Linked DNA regions of Homo sapiens: region 1 is linked to region 2. The links are contacts of gene promoters, found by promoter capture Hi-C in blood cells and fetal thymus (Javierre and others, 2016). All regions are on one chromosome and are shown on one strand. The core of a region is centred on a gene start or on the middle of the fragment in contact, and the rest is flanking DNA. Distances in the headings are between cores, read along the strand shown. Region 1 has its middle 13 kb from the start of OR8B3. Region 2 holds the start of TBRG1 (transforming growth factor beta regulator 1).

Region 1 (3,910 bases), core at 1,257-3,756, 210 kb before region 2:
AGCAAAGGTATATCAGCTCAGGAGAGGAGTGTTTTTGCCAATAGATAGAATTGTGCAGGCTTTGTGTGCTCACAGACATCACCTTAGAGACTTAGCCAGAGGACTTTGGGTTAGAGAAATACAGTTGAACTCATCCATTTTAACCACTGCTACTTTCTGAAAGCCCACTAAAATGTTAATGAAGGCATTACAAGGCAGAAGAACAAGCATGTTTCATTAACTTACTGGGACAAGAACACAGGGGAAAGACAGCAGGAAAAAAAAAAATCAGAAAGCTGGAAGGCACAGTGATAATCAGTAACTGACTCGGTGGTCCCCAGAAAGCTGAATTCAGAGCTCCGTAGTGGAAGCAAATATCCAGATTACGCCATAGCGTGTCTCACGTGCTCAGTAATGTGGTGGCACAGCTCACCTCTGAAAGTAGGGGTGATGGTGAGCATAAAAACAGGAAGGCGGCTTGAAAGTCTGTTACAGAAGTAGGCAGATCCCCAGATTCTCTCTTCTACTCGGTGCATCCAGAAGAGTGATCCTCCTACACCCCAGCAGAAGACTGGAGGTTTATTCTGCAGAGATGAAAAATGAAACATCTCTAGAATAGAAGGCACTTGAGTGTGGAGAAGTACTATACTAAAACTGAGGGAAATAATTGGCAGTTCACATACTGAATGTTACTGTATCATTGAAATATGAGTATAAAATAAAGACACTTTCCGACATGCCAGGTGTGGTCAAGGCATACAAAGTATGGACAGGCTAGATGTCCCACAAACTCATTTTATCTTCTTCCTGATCACAAAACTAGAATACTTTTCGCAGAGTCTCTTTTGCTTAAGTACAGCCATAACTGAGTTCTAGCCATGGAGCATAAGCAAAAGTTAAGTGTGTCCGTTCCAAACTCACAAAAACTTCACTTCCATCATCTCTCACGATGCTCCCTCTTTGGCCTCACTGATGCAGAAGAGCATGTGTTAGAGATGACATAGCAACATGAGAAAAGGGTCTTGGGTCCAAGTTTATTACTTTATGGAGCTGCCCTCCATTTAGAAAAACTTATTTTAAACTCTATATGAGTAACATGGAAACTTTTATTATATTTAAGTTAAGTATATTTGCTTTCGAACACCAAGTTTTGTAAGTATGGAAAGATGATTTAAACAACAGAGAGAGTGTTAAGATGAATTTATTATAAGTACATAGAAAATTGAATGAAAAACCAAAACCATTATTTATTCTAGAAAGAACAAAGGTAGTGAAAGAAAAATGATCAAAACACATTACAGTACTTACATAAGCAAAGCATTTACATTCTTATAATTATGTAAACACTGAATATGAATCCAACTACAAAAAATAAACTGTATTGGGAGGATAAAGAGAACAGAAAGTATATTTGTGTTGAAGGGAGGTAAAAAATGAAGTTAATTCTGATATCCTAAACTGAAAACCAGTTGACTTTTTATTTAGGCCTAACACTGAAAAATCAAGAAGCAACTGCATATATTTAGTGATAGGGTGATAAAGACCAGAAAAAAAAAAGCCGAGATCTGTTTTTAATAGGACCATAGAAAATGATAAATAAGATTGAATTCTTGCCCCTAGCTTCATTTCATTAGTTTCATTTCTTATGCCCTGATCCTCTTCGATATCCTCCACATCTCATCAGCTGAAAGTGTTCAGCACCTGTAGTTCCCACATGGTAATTTTTGCTGTGGTCTATGATTCTACATTATTCACACATCTCAAAACCTTTCCTGCTGATTCTTTGAGCCAGGGGAAATTTTTTACTCTGGTTTTTTATATCTCTTGCTATCATGAACATGTTCTCATTTCAGTAGATATTTTTCTTGAGGAAAGCACTGTTTAGGATGCCACACGTTCTCTTTTCCGTCTTAGGCTTTTCACCGCTGTTTCTTCCTTGGATGTTGTTTCCCCTGGAAAGCTTTCTTTTACCACATTCTCTTATCACCACCACCACCTCTGCCTAAATTTAGCTCCATATATATATATATACACACACATATATATTTATATATATATTTATATATATATATTTAGAATTAATATATTCTGTAAGGAAAATGCAGCTTCTTAGTATTGTGGGGTTTTTTTTAAAATGATTTAAGTCCATAATGCAATGATATGGTTCAAAATTCAAAAGATTCAAAAAGGATATGCAGAGGAAAGTCTCCTTTATACCCCTGTCTCTCAGCCATCTAGCTGTCCTCCCTGGAGGCAACCAGTGCTACCAGTTACTATCAATGCTATCAGTGATATTTTATTCATATACAGTCCTATGTTGCTTAGAGACTAGGACTATATTCTGAGAAATGTGTTGTTAGGTGATTTTGTGGTTATGCAAACATCACAGAGTGAATTTACACAAACCTAAATCATACAGCCTGCCACACACCTAGGCTACATGGTACAGCCTCTTACTCCTAGGCTACAAACTCCTACAGCATGTGACTGTACTTTGTACTGTAGGCAATTGTAACACAATGGTAAGTATTGCTGTATCTAAACATATCCAATCATAGAAAATGTACAGTAAAAATATGGTATAAAAGATTAAAAATGGTACACTTGTATAGGGTACTTACCATGAATGGAGCTTGTGGGACTGGAAGTTGCTCTGGGTGAGTCAGTGAGTGAGTGGCAGGTGAACGTGGAGGTCTAGTACATTACTCTACACTACTGTAGACTTTATAAACACTCTACACTTAGGCTACACTAAATTTATCTTAAAATATTTTTCTTTCTTCAATAATAAATTAACTTTAGGTTACTGTAACATTTTTACTTTATAAATGCTTTTGTTAGAAACTAAGACACAAATGCACATGTTAACCTAGGCTTACACAGGGTCAGGATCATCAATATTACTGTCTTCCACCTCCACATCTTGTTTCATTGAATGGTTTTCAGGGACAATAACATATGGAGCTGTCATCTCCTATGGTAACAATGCCGTCTTTTGGAATCCCTCCTGAAGAACCTGCCCGAGGTTGTTTTGCAGTTAATTTTTTTTAATACGTAGAAAAAGTACACTCCAAAATAATGATGAAAGAGTATAGTAAGCTTAATACATAAACCAGTAACAGTCATTCATTAGTAAGTATTATGTACTGTACATAATAATATGTGCTATCCTTTGATATGACTGGCAGCACAGTTGGTTTGTTTACACCAGGATCACTACAAATATGTGGGTAATGCATTGTGCTATGTCTTTACCTTTTGATGGCTATGACATTGCTAGGGGATAGGAGTTTTTCAGCTCCATTATAATCTTAGGGGACTACCATCATATGTGCAATCTGTCATCAACCAAAACATCATCATGCAGTGCATAACTGCATAATGAAATTCACATGCATTATCCCACAAATTTTACACAAATAGTAGTATACTGTATGCACTGTTTTTCAACTCGCTTTTAATTTCCTATCTATCACTTCTTGAGAAACGACTGAAGAATGAGTAAGACTTAGGACCCAGGAAGAGTAGATTCAGAAGAGTAGTAAAGAGGAGTCCCAGATACCTGTGCAGTCACCATATGGACCAACCAGGCTAGACTGGAACAATGGTGTAAGAGAGATTTTTCCACTTAACAATATCTTTTGGAGATTATTTCATACATAAAGGTAGTCTTCATTTTTTATACACCTAGATAGCAGTTTTTGTACAGATATCTGAAAATCTATTTGATCTGTCCCTCTTTGATGAATAATCAAAGGACTATCTCAGTCCTTTGTTATTAACTGAGGTTAATCTCAGTCCTTTGTTATTATTTTTTAATGTAATGAGTAAACCAATATATAAATCATTAGGCATATGTATATGGTTTCCTCTCTGTCCAAATCCATACACCTATTCTTTTCCTTTATGCTTTGACTCTGGGGATATACTT
Region 2 (4,350 bases), core at 1,140-3,639:
ATCTGCTCTTAGGATGTAAGGACATAGTAGAACAAGGCTGGGGCCATGTCTCAGCCGTGAGTGGAGCCTTCAGGTGCCCAGATACACTTTTCACCATCTAAACCAGGAACTCATTTCACCAGGGGCTGGGATTATGGGCTATGGACTTCTTCACAACTGTTAACGGAGCCAGGTATGCTTTTAATACTCCAGAGGATACTATGCCTTCCCTTACAGCTAATCACTGAATAGCAAGCACTTACAAATGGGTAGACAGTAAAGTGCTATTGAACTTCTTTCTCTTCTGATTTATTACCCTATTTTAGCTTCTAACTCCCATTCCTATGCCTGTAGTTAATGGAACTTTGGTCTGACTTCAAAGACCACACTCAGACACAATATCATGCTGTCTGCCATTTTATATTTCTTTTTAGAGCTACACATTATGCATTTCTTTAAAGAATTTTTGCATAGGCCATTTAGACCCTTCTTCGTATAGTTAAGTAGAAAAGTTGTGTTGCTTCTGACAGATTCAGGTAAGTTTACCTAACACAAGCAAAGAGCTGATAGATGGTTTCCTATTGTCACTGGGTCAAAGTCCAACTCTTCAGTTGGTACACAAGACTTTTCATGACCCAAAAAACCCTACTTACTGCTTCAGTCTCTCTTCTTGCTTCTCTCTACACACATCTTTCACACTGATCAACTACTTGCAGTTCCCATACTGAGCCTTTGCATATGCTGTCTCCACCATCCAGCATGCCCCCCTTTGTTCTTCACTGGGCCAACCAACCACTACCTCTCCTTCAGAGTCTGCCCAGATGTATCTCCTTTAAGAAACCTTTCCTATCTCCTCCCTCCTTCCCTGAGTGCTGCCAAATAAAATAAAACCTACCTCTGAAACAAACTTATTATACCATATTAACATTGCCAATTTACTTGTCTGTCTTTCCTTCTTAAATTAAGGTTCTTAAAGGTGGTATCATAATAGGCACTAGGTAAATATTCTTCTAAACAAATAAGGACTGAATGAGTTGCTCAGTGGCATGACCTTTGTGGAGCACACATATCCAGCCTCTGAACAGTCCTATATGGAAAAAGCTTTGGACGCAAAGATATGCTTTTAATGGAATTGACCAAAAAGTCAAAGAACATGGAAATAATTATGCAAAATATAATATAGCCATAACTGGAATATTAACCAGCCACTTAAAATTATGCTTATAAGGAAGCTATACTAACATTTGTGAAACTGAAATGATACAATGGTAAATGAACAAAAAGAAAACTTTATTTTCAGTATTGTCTAACCTATACAAAAATGCATAAAATATTAGACACATATACTAACATGGTAAAAGTAGTTCATTCCAAGTGGTAGCATTATGGATTTTTAAACCTTTCTTGTACTATATTTTCTAAATTTCTAAAGTTCGAATGAAATGTTTTGTAAGTGTAAGGAAATGTGTCCAATGAAGAAGAAACAAAAAATATCTTCATGCAAATCCCACTAAAGTCCATTGGCCAAAACAGCCTGCAAACTAGGACAAAGGATAGCACTTTTCTTCCCCCTAGATGTGATACATGTATATGAAAATAAATAATACAAATAAAGTCAGACCCCAAAGCCCGCAAGGACAAAATACAGCAGAACAGCAAATTTTTTTTTTGAGAGAAAAAACTAGAGAGTTACTGAACTAGTTATTGGCATCGCTGGAAGAAGATGCAAGCAAGCCTTCTGCCATCCAGCCTGGGTCACTTACCAATACCGCACCCTAAAGATTTTTCTATCTTCCCTAATTTTAAATAGACCTTGGTTGTAAAGTTAGAACCATATACATGTACATATTATGTACAGAAATACACTTCTGGTTTCACTAGACAAACATTTACTGAGTGCCTACTTAGTGCTAGTATTAAAACTGCGTGTTAAATCTCTCATCTTCCCTACTAGAAAGAGCCAAGGCCTTTCTTCCTGTTCACTACTGTGTTCCCAGCTCCTGGGAAGATGATAGCATTAGGAGGCCCTGCAAACACATTTCTGTGAGCTGCAGAAAGGAACGAAGCAGGGAAAGAAGCAGAGTCCCAGCACTTGGGCTCACTTTGTCCTACAGTCTGGGAAAGCCTGTCTGCACGAAGCATGAAAAACGTATTAAAACGCAGTGGCCCAGCGGGGGAGCGTGAATGAGAGCTCGCATTGGTAAGCTTCTTGTTAGTTCGTTGGTTCAACTATAGTACCCTTCAGCTAAGCACACGGCCGCCGGCCCTCCCTCCTCTCCTCATCCAGCACTAGCCCCCAGCTGTCTCTTTCCTCCCGGTGCCCACGATCGCACCGCCCAGACCACCCTACTCTCCCTGCCCCGGAAGTTACACACTGCCGACACCGGGACGTAACTTCCGGGAAGGGCTTACTTCCAAGACAGACACGGAAGTGCTGGGAGGCGCCGGGAGCCCGTTCGGTTGCGGGTGTCTCTGGCCCTGCGGTCAGCCCTGGGAACGTCCCGGAGAGCTAGATTCCTAGAGGCCCGATTCCGCTAGCCCGGAACAGACAAAGCCAGCGCTCCCGCCCGCTCCCCGACTTAGGATCCGATGCCGGCAGCGTCCTGGGGCCCCCGTAGCGGGGCTGGACCATGAGCCTGCTGGACGGCCTCGCTTCCTCGCCGCGGGCTCCGCTGCAGTCCAGCAAGGCCAGGATGAAAAAGCTCCCGAAGAAGAGCCAGAATGAGAAGTACCGGCTGAAGTACCTGCGGCTGCGCAAAGCGGCCAAGGCCACGGTGTTTGTGAGTCTGACCCACGTTCAGCCGGTCCCCTCCTGGAGACTCCCTCACAAAATCTTTCCCCAAGCTGTTCCCCCTTCCCAGTGTGACAGTATTAATACAGTGTTGGCTTTTCCGTATACGTTACTACTTGTTAGCCTTGTGTCCTTGGACAAATTACGTAATTTCTCTGTGTCCTCATCTGTAAATGAGCTAGTAACTGTCTTGCAGAATAATGAATATTAAATGAGTAAAGAAAAGTGCTTGGTGCGTAAAAGACATACCAATAAATTTTAGTCATCGTTGTTACTGCAGGACTCTAGGAAATGTGTTTGATTCTCGAGATACAGCCCTGAGAATTAGGCATTATTTGTAAAATGAGAACACTGAAGCCCAGAGAGATGATTTGCCCAAGGGTACTGTGTCAGAGCCCTGACTCCAACTTAGATAAACCTGATTCCGTTTTATGACTTCCAGTACACAGACTATTTTCTGAGCACCTCAAATCCCCATAACTGACCCTTTGCCCAAAGAGGTACATGAAACTGTCAGTAATTTCCCCCCTCTAACCTTTGAGTGTTCCAAGTGTTTCTTCCTTTCTTTTATTGTAGAAGCACTGGATTTATTGAGTGAATAAACTTAATATAGCTTGCCAGCCATAACTTTATATTAGAATAGTTTGGCTTGCCTCAGTGCTTGGAAATAGGGGTGGAGTCCTCAAATGTCCCCCCACATCCAAGTCAACAGTTCATCTCTTCTCTCTACCAAAAGCTTGAACGTCTCTCAGCATTTTTGGAAGCATAAGGAAAGGTTCAGAAATTAGAATACACATTCCAAAAGCACTTATTCAGCACTTGCTATGTGTATTGCTTGCTATTTGCACTGGAGAGAAACAAGAAAAGTAAAACTAAGAGAACTTAGCATCTGATTGACTGTTCCCTTTCTTTTATCCCCTATACGTCAAAGGTACCTAAAGCTTGGAATTTATGTTATTTCAAGGATATTGGTTCCATCAAATACATAATGAAGATTTTGTGAAGAAAAAGCGATGTTGTTTTGAACATTGAGAGTTTGAAGTTCCACCTATGGGGGCATTCAGATTCAGCATTCCCTTCAGGATTGGTGCTTGGGAGATAGATTGAGTCATCATTTACAAAAAAAAAAAAAAAAAAAAGAAAAAAGATAATACTTGAATTCGTATAAGTAGATTGTGAAGTTTAAGAATTTTACACACTAAATTTGATTTTGTTCTGTCCAGTTTTTCTCTATTTGGGTTAGACTGGCTTTGTAAGTTTTTCAAGAGTTGAGGCACTTGGGAATAGACAGTTTTCATATTTATAGTATTTAATTTAAGCATATAAGGATTTAAGCAGTATGCCTTTTTCTTTGCCAAAGGCTATACTAATTAGGGTGACCATTAATCTTGGCTTGCCCAGGACAGTCCTGGTTCACCGTATTGTTCTGGCATAAGCATTAATAGTACCCCCTTTTCACTCAAAGATGTCCCGGATTGGATAATAAATTACATAGCTATACCCTGTCCATAGTAGAACCTGACTACCTTTATCTATGGATTTATTTATAGTTTGTCACACGGTCGAATAGCTCCTTCTTC

Evidence for each region. The method cuts DNA at HindIII sites, captures the fragments that hold promoters and counts their contacts. A CHiCAGO score of 5 or more calls a contact.
Region 1: a contact is called between a fragment that was not itself captured here and the fragment with the promoter of TBRG1 in region 2, in 2 of 17 cell types (megakaryocytes and M2 macrophages). The highest score is 7.3, in megakaryocytes.

The regions. Positions count from the first base shown.
Region 1 is chr11:124,409,684-124,413,593 of GRCh38, forward strand. It overlaps a transcript of OR8B3 not described here. Among named protein-coding and RNA genes, the nearest start is that of OR8B3, 13 kb to the left of the region's middle. The HindIII fragment of the contact is 1,139 bases long and covers 1,938-3,076 here.
Region 2 is chr11:124,620,475-124,624,824 of GRCh38, forward strand. It overlaps TBRG1 (transforming growth factor beta regulator 1), which reads left to right and starts at 2,390. Exons shown (of 9, transcript NM_032811.3): 1 at 2,390-2,759. The coding sequence starts at 2,610. It overlaps LOC124902779 (a long non-coding RNA gene), which reads right to left and starts at 2,727. Exons shown (of 2, transcript XR_007062932.1): 1 at 1-2,727. RefSeq lists an enhancer at 2,467-2,536. The HindIII fragment of the contact is 1,322 bases long and covers 2,183-3,504 here.